Linked DNA regions of Homo sapiens: regions 1 and 3 are each linked to region 2. Evidence: promoter capture Hi-C in human tissues and cell types (Jung and others, 2019). All regions are on one chromosome and are shown on one strand. Each heading gives the region's core, a stretch centred on a gene start or on the middle of the fragment in contact. The rest is flanking DNA. Distances are from core to core; before and after follow the strand shown. Region 1 overlaps MYO18A (myosin XVIIIA). Region 2 holds the start of TRAF4 (TNF receptor associated factor 4). Region 3 overlaps MYO18A (myosin XVIIIA).

The links. The method cuts DNA at HindIII sites, captures the fragments that hold promoters and counts their contacts. A contact is called where the count stands out against the background at its distance.
Region 1: a contact is called between a fragment that was not itself captured here and the fragment with the promoter of TRAF4 in region 2, in 1 of the 25 tissues and cell types used here (dorsolateral prefrontal cortex).
Region 3: a contact is called between a fragment that was not itself captured here and the fragment with the promoter of TRAF4 in region 2, in 1 of the 25 tissues and cell types used here (spleen).

Annotation. Positions count from the first base shown.
Region 1 is chr17:29,149,800-29,153,137 of GRCh38, reverse strand. The region is part of intron 2 of MYO18A (myosin XVIIIA); the gene reads left to right. The region is part of intron 1 of LOC124903967 (a long non-coding RNA gene); the gene reads right to left. Among named protein-coding and RNA genes, the nearest start is that of MYO18A, 29 kb to the left of the region's middle. RefSeq lists enhancers at 3,243-3,292, 3,313-3,338. The HindIII fragment of the contact is 7,800 bases long and covers 1-3,338 here.
Region 2 is chr17:28,742,059-28,745,456 of GRCh38, reverse strand. TRAF4 (TNF receptor associated factor 4) reads right to left here and starts at 1,446. Exons shown (of 7, transcript NM_004295.4): 1 at 1,202-1,446. The coding sequence starts at 1,344. It overlaps NEK8 (NIMA related kinase 8), which reads right to left. Exons shown (of 15, transcript NM_178170.3): 15 at 2,002-3,398. RefSeq lists silencers at 968-1,167, 1,188-1,597, 2,052-2,346 and enhancers at 2,052-2,346, 1,370-2,370. The HindIII fragment of the contact is 18,595 bases long and covers 1-3,398 here.
Region 3 is chr17:29,081,478-29,085,318 of GRCh38, reverse strand. It overlaps MYO18A (myosin XVIIIA), which reads left to right. Exons shown (of 42, transcript NM_078471.4): 41 at 2,881-3,003. Among named protein-coding and RNA genes, the nearest start is that of PIPOX, 40 kb to the right of the region's middle. The HindIII fragment of the contact is 3,628 bases long and covers 671-3,841 here.

The sequences.
Region 1 (3,338 bases), core at 344-2,843, 410 kb before region 2:
CAAACAAGCAAACACAAAATAATAGTACTTTCCTTGTAAGGTTGTCTTGAGGATTAAATGAATCAATACATATAAACCACTTAGAGCAGTGCCTCAAAATAGTGCCTAGAGTCAGTGAGCATTGGCCAGGCATGGTGGTTCACACCTGTAATCCCAGTGCTTTGGGAGGCTGAAATGGGAAGATCTCTTGAGGCTAGGAGTTCAAGACCAGCCTGCGAAAGATAGTGCTACTTTGTACAAAAAGTAAAAATATTAGCCCAGTGTGGTGGTGCATGCCTGTCCTAGCTACTTAGGAGGCTGAAGCAGGAGGATCGCTTGAGCCCAGGAGTTTGAGGCTGCAGTGAGCCATGATCACACCACTGCACTCCAACCTGAGTGACAGAATGAGATCCTGTTTAAAAAAAAAAGAAGAAGTGAACATTATCATCATCCTCATTAATCTGTCTCTGGTACGTCAGGAAGCACTGGTGCCTGGTAGCTTGGTACCCGCAGGAATGTCACAGGTGCTGTTCCTGTTAATGGCTCAGCTCTGCTCACGGGGAGTGTTGGAGAACTGCTTTATTCTTGTCCCCACGCTGATGCTTATGCCCAAAGTGCCTTTCAGGTAGAGATGGGGAACAGGCCTAAGCTTACTCAGGGCTGCACAGTAATCTTAGCGAGGGATTGCTTTGGCCTGAGTTTCCAATCTGGTCTGAAGTTTGATTCCAGTTTTTAAAATTGGGCTGCTTTCTCTGTGACTCCCTCCAGTCAGATTCTTAGCTGATGGCAAGACCTCTGGAGTACCAGGTGTCTTTCTACCTATTTGTTTTCCATTTGAACAAACTCACCCTACTTTTTGGTCTTTCTACAATTTATTTTGTTTCTTCACACCTGTCTTGCTCCTGACAGCCCATTTAGATTAGGACTAAGCAGGAATTGAGGCATAAAACAGAAAGACAGTCCTGACCTGCCAGTTCCAGAGTCTGTCCTCTGCTCCTTCCACCACCCATATGAGCATGCCTAGACTCTCCCACTTGTGATTTTTACTGCAGCAAAACCTCTCCAGTGAAGTCTCTGTGACGGAACACAACAGTGGTCAGACCCGCCAATCTGTTCCTTTGCTCTTCTGTGGATGCGGGGCTGGGGGGCTTCTCTGAGCCTCCTCTCCAGCATGTCAGATATGTCCAGAGTCCATTCTCCACCGTGTCCTCCCCTTCCTACTCCTCCTTTGCTTCATCTAGTTGGTGACACAGGGAGGTGTCCAGTTATGGGCCTCACTGCTCCATGGCAGAAATCCTGGCATGCCCTGGATGAGGCTTCATTGGCCTTATTTGCTGTTGAAAGTTCAGGATTCTGTTGGGACTTCTGATTCTATAGGAGTACTAACATCAGATAAGTCCTGCAGCGGGTGGCTTGGGGAAGCCCTCAGGCCACTGCATTCCAGATGTCTTACTCGTGCTTGGCCCAGAGAATGCAGAAACAAGGAACCATTGTGTGATTGTGCAGGCACTGAGGGGCTTTCTCCCAGGCCTGGGACGCCTTGGGGTGGGAGTAGGTTTCCATTCAGTCTTGGCTTCTGCTCCCAGCTGGGTATTAAATTGTGACTACAGTCCCCTCCTCCACCTCTTTTGGAGGCCTAGGGAACAAGGCAAGGCATGTGTGGATAGGAGTCTAAGCAGACTCTGGGGTGAGGAAGGGAGACAACAGCAGGTAGGCGGGGGCATCATCTGAAGGAGGCATTGGTAGAGGGACCAGGACACACTGAAAGGGAACCTCTAGACCAGACCTGCCCAACAGAACAATTTGCAAGGGTAGAAATGGTCTATAATGCTATCCAACTTAGTAGGAACTGAACCTTAAATTTTATTTGATTTTAATTTAATCAGAAGTATCCTCATTGTTTCCATTTAACTGGAATTTTTTCTGAGACGGGGTCTTGCTCTGTCACCCAGGCTAGAGTGCAGTGGCACCATCACAGTTCACTGCAGCGAACTCTTGGGCTTGAGTGATCCTCCCACCTCCCCCTCCCAAGTTGCTGGGACCACACTTGGCTAATTAAAAAAAAATTTTTTTTGTAGAGACGGGGTCTCACTATGTTGCCCAGGCTGGTCTTGTGTTAACAACACCTTTGCAACCACAGCAACTCCTGACCTGTGGGCCCTTGCCTGGGGCCCCCTCTCTCCTCCTTTCTTCCTCCTCTCTCCTCCCCAGATGAGCTGAAAGCAATTCCTGCAGCCAAAACTAGCCCTTCCAACCAACTTCATGTTTGACAAGCATCTGTTTCTACAGCAACAATAAGAGCTACAGTTTTGGGATTTTGAAGAAAATGGGCGGGACAAAGGGTAGAGGATCCTCTATAGGGTCTTTCAAAGGCACAGAAGAGAGACCTCAAAATCAGTCATCAAAGGAAGACAAGCGATCTTGCTGCCTAGACCTCCCAAAATGTTGGGATTATGGGCATGAGCCATAACACCCGGCCAGCTTCAATTTGAATAGCCACTCATGGCTAGTAGCTACCATATTGAACAGTACGGCTCTAAACAGCTCCCAGAAAGAAATAGTTGGGTGTTCTTGAAGGTTTGTTTCCTCCTTCAGAGTCCCCCTGGTAAGGCAGGGGATGGTGGCATTTCCCCTTCCTCTCAAGAAGGAAGAGCTGTCCTCTCTGGCAATTTCTACACCTCAACCACCACCAGCTCTGGAATCCTAATGCCCCAGGGCCAGCAGGTCCCTGGCTGTGTGCCACCACAACTGGGGCAGCGCTTCCTTTCCTCGCCAAGGATGTCTTCTGCCCAGCTTTGTAACACACAGGTACTCACATGCCCCAGTGGATTTGGCCCAGGCTGTTAGCACAGAGGTGGTGGGTTGGTAGGCAAGGTAGAGGCTTTTGCTTCTTCCTGTTTCTATGGACATAGGGTTTGTGCTTTATTTTTTACTTCAGAGGGTTTTAGAAACAGGCCCAATAGGGGCTCCAGAGGTGAACACACAGATTCTCAAATATTTATTGGATGTCCAGTGTTACGAGGAACCTGAGGCTTGTCTAGAAGAACTTCTCTGACTTTGAGAATAAGCACCACAGGCCTCCATCTCTCACACCCAGGAAGACCTTACTGATATTTTATTTAAATTGCTGTGGCTGACCCTTAAGCTGGCTTCCTTTTTTTTCTTCTGTGGAAATGGAGAAGAGTTGTCATTTATATGAAAAAGAGAACAATGCTTCATTATGTTTATTCCCTCCTGTCTACCAGAGGGGGTGGATAGGAGAACATAGTGCATGTGGTACATTTAGGAGACCCAGAAGTGACCCAAGTCCTGATGAGATGTGGGGCAGGGCTGTGGAGGATTTTGGGAAAGGATCCTCA
Region 2 (3,398 bases), core at 197-2,696:
GGCTCAGCTGGCCTCATCTGGAACCCAGAGGGCCGGGGAAGAGCAGTGGCGGAGACAATGGGGCTGTGTCTGTAGGAGAGTAAATGTGTACACTGCCGAGGGGGAGGGGGCAGTCCTGCAGCTTGTGCCGGAGCATATGTGAGGGCAGGAGCCGGCCCAGGCTGTGGGGAACAGAAAACAAAGGGCCTGCTGAGATTTCCGCCAGTAGGAGCTACGGAGGACCGAGCGAGGGAGGGAGGCACGGCGGGAGGGAGCACCGGAGGCAGGCGTCTCAGAGGTACTATCCCTGCCAGGCCCTCGATCCCCTCGTCCCAGCAAACAGCCAGGCAGTGGCCGACTCGGCCTTCCCCTGCGCTCTGGGGGCATGACCTCCGAAGAGTCGGGGCTCCTTCACCCTGCTTCCCACACCCGGGCCTGAGGGGTTCCCTGCGTGAGCAGGAGATTCAAGACATACAGGGCGCCCAGAAACTTGATGGATGCCCAAGAGCCAAGGGCTAACCTGCGTCCTGAGAGGGCAGCGGGAGTTCAGTAACAACACGAGTGCGACCCCCTTCTTCATGACTTATGGACCACCCGCCTTACTCCAGCCCCCGGGAGAGAGGGGAGCCGCCTAGAGGGGTCCTTCTTCGGGGGAGGATTCAGTCCTTCCTCCATTGTGTGATCATAAGCAGTCCGGGTTTAAATCCTAGTTAAGCCTTTAAGTAACTATGTGACCCTGGGCAAGTCGCAGCCTTTCTTTGAATCTCGTTTCATGATCTGTGAAATGGGAGAACAATAGCTACCGTTCTCTGAACGTTCGAAGAATCAGAAGAGGTTAGATGGGGGAAAGCTCCGGAGGCTCAAACTGCCACGCGGGAGCGGGTTTTGTCCTCTTCCCCCAGGATTCAAAGTTCAAGGCTGAGGCCGCGCCGGCTCTCAGGTGACGGGGAAGGGCCTCTTCCCCTCCTGACCCCACGAGAAGGCGCCGAGGTCTTCCGCCCCGGGCCGGGCAGTTGGGACCCGCCCGGACCCCTCGGATTCCTGCGGGGGGGGCCTCCCTCGGGGCTTGACGTCATCCCTCCCCGTGACGTCACGGGGCGCCCCTGAGGTCACAGGGTCGCAGCGCAGACAAAGGCCCGCCTTGCCCCGGGCCCGAGACCCTCCCCAGGCGGCGCCCCCCGCCCCGCCCCGCCCCCGCTGTCCCCTGCTCCCCGGCCAGCACCTGAGGAACTCCTGCAGGCAGGTATCGCAGAAACGGTGGCCGCAGGTGGAAACCTGCACAGGCTCGCGCATGGGCTTCCCGCACAGTGGGCACAGCAGCCGTCGCTTGGGCTTCTCCAGGAACTTGTAGTCGAAGCCAGGCATGGCGGGCGAGCGGCCGGCACGGGCGAGCGGGGCCAGGCACGCGGCGGCCCCACAGCCCGCGCCTCGCTGGAGCGGCGCTCCCGGCTCCGGGCGGCGCCGACTGGCGGTCGCGGCCAGGGCTCGGCTGTGAAGCCCGCCCTCCGGAAGAGAGGGCGGACCGCGGCCGCGCGGTCCTAATGCGCGCCCTCGCGGCCCCGCCCACCCCCGAGTGCATGGTTTTTGGGTCTGGTGACCGCCAGTCTCGCCCACCCACGGGATCATGGGCTTTTCTTTCCCCTGGGGGACAGAGATCGTGGCTCCGCTTCTCCCCAGAGCCCGCGGGCCCCGGGGAAGTGCGGGTCGGAAAAGGGGACGGGCCGCGCCACAAAGGTTTTCTTCTCCAGAGGCAACAGCTCGGCCTCCGGGGCCGTGAGCAGCCCAGGAACCGTGGCCCCAGCTTCCAGGTGCTAGGCAGCCGAAGCCTGGCAACCAGCTCCGGGGAGCCCAGCTGGGGCGGGGAGGCTGGACTGGGCGCTGGGCCAGAGGAACCTCGGCCCCAGCCTCCGGCTGCGCCCACATTCCTCCCTTGGCCGCAGCCCTGCCACCGAGGTCGGGCCCAGCCCAGTCCTGGGGTGCCTGGTCGCCACCCCCACCCTTGAAGACACCACACTCCAGGCAGGCAGCTGATATTTTTATTGGCCTTCCTGTCCTCTGGGAAACCGGTCTGGTCCCACCAGCTACCCATTCTCTCAACTGTTTCTGGGGAAAGGCATGGGGGGGACGGGCAATCTCCAGCGCGGATCTTTTCTGCAGCACTTAGTGACTCCTGCCCTCCTGCTGGGGAAGAGAGGCAAGCCGACGTCTAGCAAATCCTGCCTCAGGATGAAAGTGTAGGGGAGGTGGCAGCACTCCCGGGGACCGCCCAGCCCCGGGCTATGCAGAAGCTAGGCAGGCCTAATGGCCAGTCCAGGCAGGCCCTGGCTTGCCCTGCTCCAAAGTATGGAGATAGAGTCCCGGTAAGCACCAAATACTTTTTTTTTTTTTTTTTTTTTTTTTTTTTTGAGAGGGAGACTTGCTCTGTCATCCAGGCTGGAGTGCAGTGGTGCGATCTCGGCTCACTGCAAACTTCACCTCCCGGGTTCAAGGGATTCTCTTGCCTTAGCCTCCAGAGTAGCTGGGATTACAGGCGCCCGTCACCATGCCTGGTTAATTTTTGTATTTTTAGTAGAGACGGGGTTTCACCATGTTGGCCAGGCTGGCCTCAGTCTACTGACCTCAAGTGATCCGCCCGCCTTGGCCTCCCAAAGTGCTGGAATTACAGGCGTGAGCCACCGCACCCAGCCTTATTTTCTTCTTTTTTTTTTTTTTTGGTGGAGACAGCGGTCTCGCTATGGTCCCCAGGCTGGTCTCCCAACTCCTGGCCACAAGGGATCAAGGGATCCTCCTGGCCAAAGCACTGCCTATGCAGGTGTGAGCCACCGCCGCCGGCCCAGACTTATTTTCTAACTGGGCTAGGGGAAAGGGTAGGGTCTGTGTGGAGCTACAGCTGCCTTCAGCCTTTTTTGTTTTTTTTTTTTTTTTGAGACGGAGTCTGGTTCTGTCGCCCAGGCTGGAGGGGTTTACGCCATTCTCCTGCCTCAGCCTCCTGAGCAGCTGGGACTACAGGCGCGTGCCACCACGCCCAGCTAATTTTTTTGTATTTTTAGTAGAGATGGGGTTTCACCACGTTAGCCAGGATGGTCTCGATCTCCTGACCTCGTGATCCGCCCGCCTCAGCCTCCCAAAGTGCTGGGATTACAGGCGTGAGCCACTGCGCCCGGCTGCCTTCAGCCTTTTTATGGCAAGGCTCTGGAGGCCACCCTGCTTCCAAAGGCTAGGTCTGCCTTCTAACTCTAGCCAGGCTGGACCCTGGGGACACTGACTGAAGGGAGGAAGGGGTAGGAAGGGCAAAGAGGTGGTAGGAGAACAAAGTGGTTGAGGTTTCCATATCCAAGGCCAAAAGCAGAGCAGGGGTTTTGCCAGCCCTGATACCCCATGATGACACAATCCAGGAGACAGCTGCAAGTCATGCCTTG
Region 3 (3,841 bases), core at 1,235-3,734, 340 kb before region 2:
ACCTTCCTGAGCTCCAGCACATTCCTCCCTCAAAAACCAAGTGTGGCCACCTCCCTGGCCTATTTCTCTGGGGGGAAAAGTCTGTTTGGGCTGGATCTGTCCACATCCTTGGGCTCCTTGGGAGCCTGAGCTGCCTGAAAGAAGCGGGCGTGTTTCATCTTTAAAGGTCCACTACCTTCTCTTGGCAGACAAGGGTAGAAGGTGAGGGGCATCTCCCAGTTTCTTGTTTGGAGAAAGCATTCAGGCAGCTAATCATGGGCTGCTTGCCGTGGCGGGGGAAGGGAACACAGCCAGATGTGTTTACTTTACTCCCTGCGGTACCGTGGGCAGAGGGAGGCCCCAGCGGGCGCTTGTGCTGGTACTGTCAGGTGGCAGGAAGCCCAGGAAATCCAGCCCTCTCTTTTCCCGCTTTCTGGGTGGGAGCTGGACAGCGGATGCAGATGCGCAGGCCTTCAGGCAGAGCGGGCTGATCCTCCATCAAGTTCGACAGGGTTGTTTTTTAGAGGTCTTTTTTTTTTAGCATGGCATTGGGTTTCTTCCCCCACTCTCTCTCGCCTGATGGACCCCCTCCCCTGGCCAGGATGGGCTGGTGGCAGCGCACAGGACTCAGTGAGAGCTAATGATAAATGTAATAGTGTGTAACAGTGATAGAGGGCCGCTGGAGCCTGGTTGTCACACACAATTAATATCCCCCGCCGTTCTGTCTCCGTTTGTTTGTTCCCCCGTGATTCGGCTCCCCGTTAACTAATAGCACATGAGCCCGGACATAAATTGTATTTGACGTGAGGTTTAATTCCAACCATTTAAAATTTCAACTGCCCTCTGAGCCTGCCTGCCCCTGGAGTTTGTTTACGGGCCTGATTATTTAAGGAAAAGAACATCTTCTAGATGCTTGCAACTAAAGGGAAGGCGAGGGCAGGCAGGCCAGCTTTGCAACCCATCCACTGTTCTGTATGTAAGGAGGAAAATTCATATTCTGGGCCCACAACTGTCTGTCCCCTGTGTGTTTCAACCCTGCCATCCTTGTGTGGCAAGAGCTTCAAGGGCTGATAAAATGCGCATTTAAGATCATATTCTAAACCACTGCCAGGCATGCACACACACAGGTACACCACGCATGCACACACACTCACACACACTGGTGTGTGCTCACATAGACGCATGGGGACGTGCAGCTCTAACCAGGTTCCGGCTGATGGCAGAGAGGTGGTGTGGCTCCTTCCTCAGCAGCTCTGGGCCCCAGCTCCAAGTTATTGAGCCCAGCGCAGTAAGGCAGGCAGAGAAATAATGTTTCGATTTACTTAGAGATACAGTTGTTATTGCCATAACCTTAATGAAAGCAGTAAACAGCACGGTATTAAGGGAGATTTATATGGAAACGCTTTTAACATGTAGACATAGATTTTGCGATGCATACAGCACCTCCTTTCTAAAGGCAATCAATATGGTTATGAACGGTGGTGATAAATTACAGGCTCTGAAGCTAGAGAGGGAGGTTTTTTGCACAGGTGTATAAATCAGGTGGTATTGGTGTTCCATGGGGCCCATGCACCACAGTAAATCTGCCAGGCTCGGACGGGCACAGGGCTTGCATTAGCAGTTTCGAGGTTGTCTGCTAAACTCCTGTTTACCCGGGGCATCAGCCAGCCTCGTCTTTGTTATAATTCTGTATTTGATGGAAGCCCATAAAACATGCCTCTTTATTCCCCTCTCTATGAGTTGGGCTCTCGCATGGTCCCCAGAACAATCTGCTGGTTTCGTGTGTGTGTGTGTGTGTGTGTGTGTGCGCGCGCGCGCACACATGCCTGTGTGGCTGTTTATTTAAGAACATAATTCAGGAATGGAGCCATTCCTCTTGACACAGAGGAAAGGAAATTTATATCGAGGAGAAACCCTAGCCTATCCATAGCAGGGCAACTTGGTGAGCAGACATTCTGCAGAATTTTAGAAGCAATCTTACTCAGAAGCTATCTCCAAGCCCAGCTGCTTCATGAGGGGGTGGCCATGACTCCAGCCTCAGAATTGGACTCCTTTGGGCTTTCTTTCAAGTGCTAAGGTCAGCTCTGCCCGATGAAGCACTGTGAGCAAGGGCTGGGGGCTACCTGAGGACGGAAGAGGAGACCTTGAGCGACAGGGCTCTGGTGTGGGACTTTCTGAGCCCAGCTGGGTCTCCAGGGACAATTTAGATACTGAAACTGTTGCTAGTCCCTCTGGAAATGCTGATGCCCCCCGCCCCCCGCCCCTTTTCCTTTCTCTGTTTCTTAAGAGCCAGAGAAGCCACAGGGTGGATCTGGGATGTGGCCTGGGCCTCCTTAACCTAGAGCCCAGGTTGGTGCTGCCATCCACTAAGGAGACCTTCAGGTTCAAGCTAACTCCAAATCCTACGAAGCCCTTCTCTTCTGCTCTGTGGCTGGCAGCCCAGCTCTTGTAACAAAGGCATGGAAATTGACAGCAGCTATAGCCACAATCTGAGGAATGGCAGACAAGAAACAGCAGAGTAGGCCTCAAGGAGTCACTGAAGAACCCAGGGCTCCTCTTTTTAGCTCAGAGCCATTTAGCTGAAATTGATGAGTGGATGGTCTTTAAGTCATTCTCCCTTGATTGGTCAGTGGCCTGTCACAGATAACTGGCTTGGGAGCTGCCTCCATGCTCCTGAGGGTCTTCTTGGTGGTTGTCACACAGTGTGGCTGCTGAGTGGGGACAGGCTCCTTGTGAATGGTGTGCTCTGTCTAACCTCTCTCATTCCCGCCCTCCCGACTCACCGACGTGCATGCTGCCCACATCCCCCCTGCCCAAGACACCCCCTGCACCCCCATCTGCTCCCCTCGTGGGCAGCAGGTGCCTATGCCTTGTCTACCTTTCTGCTCCTCATCCCTACAGTGAGGGAGACTCTGATGTGGACTCGGAGCTGGAGGACCGTGTTGACGGGGTCAAGTCCTGGTTGTCAAAAAACAAGGGACCTTCCAAGGCAGCTTCTGATGATGGCAGCTTAAAGAGTTCCAGGTGAGCATATGGCCTTGAGCTGGGAGGAAAAGCCACCTTGTGCCACAAGGAATGGACAAGTAGCGCCTGGATCCCATGAGGGCAGGCCTGTGTCTCTTGTCTGGCATTTGTGACTGCGGCCCGGGCATGCTTCTGGCATGTGCATGGGCACAGGAAGTTTCTTCTTAGCCAGGGCTGCGTCGCCCTTATTTTTTCCAGGGAATGTTTTCCCATTAGGCTCCAGGCTTTGGTTTGATGTAAGTTAAATGTCACCTCCACTTATTCATTCAACAAATGTTGATCAAGCTTCCTGATAGTTCAGACCCTTGGAATCAAAACTGGGATGGGGCACAGGGGACTCTTAATCCCACAGCCCTGGCCAGCTCTGGATCTCTGACGTCTTACCGTGAATAGCAGCAGAAGAGGCACCAGTTCCACTGATTCTTGACCCAGTTACAGGCACATTTCTGTCTTTTTCTGCCCATTCTCTCCTTCCTCTAATCTCTTCACTGCCCCCACTTCTTTCCTCCTAATACCCATCCACTGGGGGAATGTACTCCCCTGTTTTCTAGCCAGTCATAGTCCTCTGATCATACAGACAGCTACCCCTGGAATCCAGAGCTTCCCCTTGCCCATCTCTTTCCTACTGGCCAGTGTGGCAGCAGGGAGAAAGAAGAGCCCTCGCTCCCCCCTCACCCCCCACAAAGCCATATCCCTGCTGCCCCCACAACATAGAATCCCAACCCCCTGATCAAGCCCATCCTGATCCTCCAGGACACACCCTTCCTCATCCTCTCCCAGAGACAGCAGGTAGACTGGGTAGAAAAAGTAACATCTCTCCCTCCCTTCTCCAGCTCCC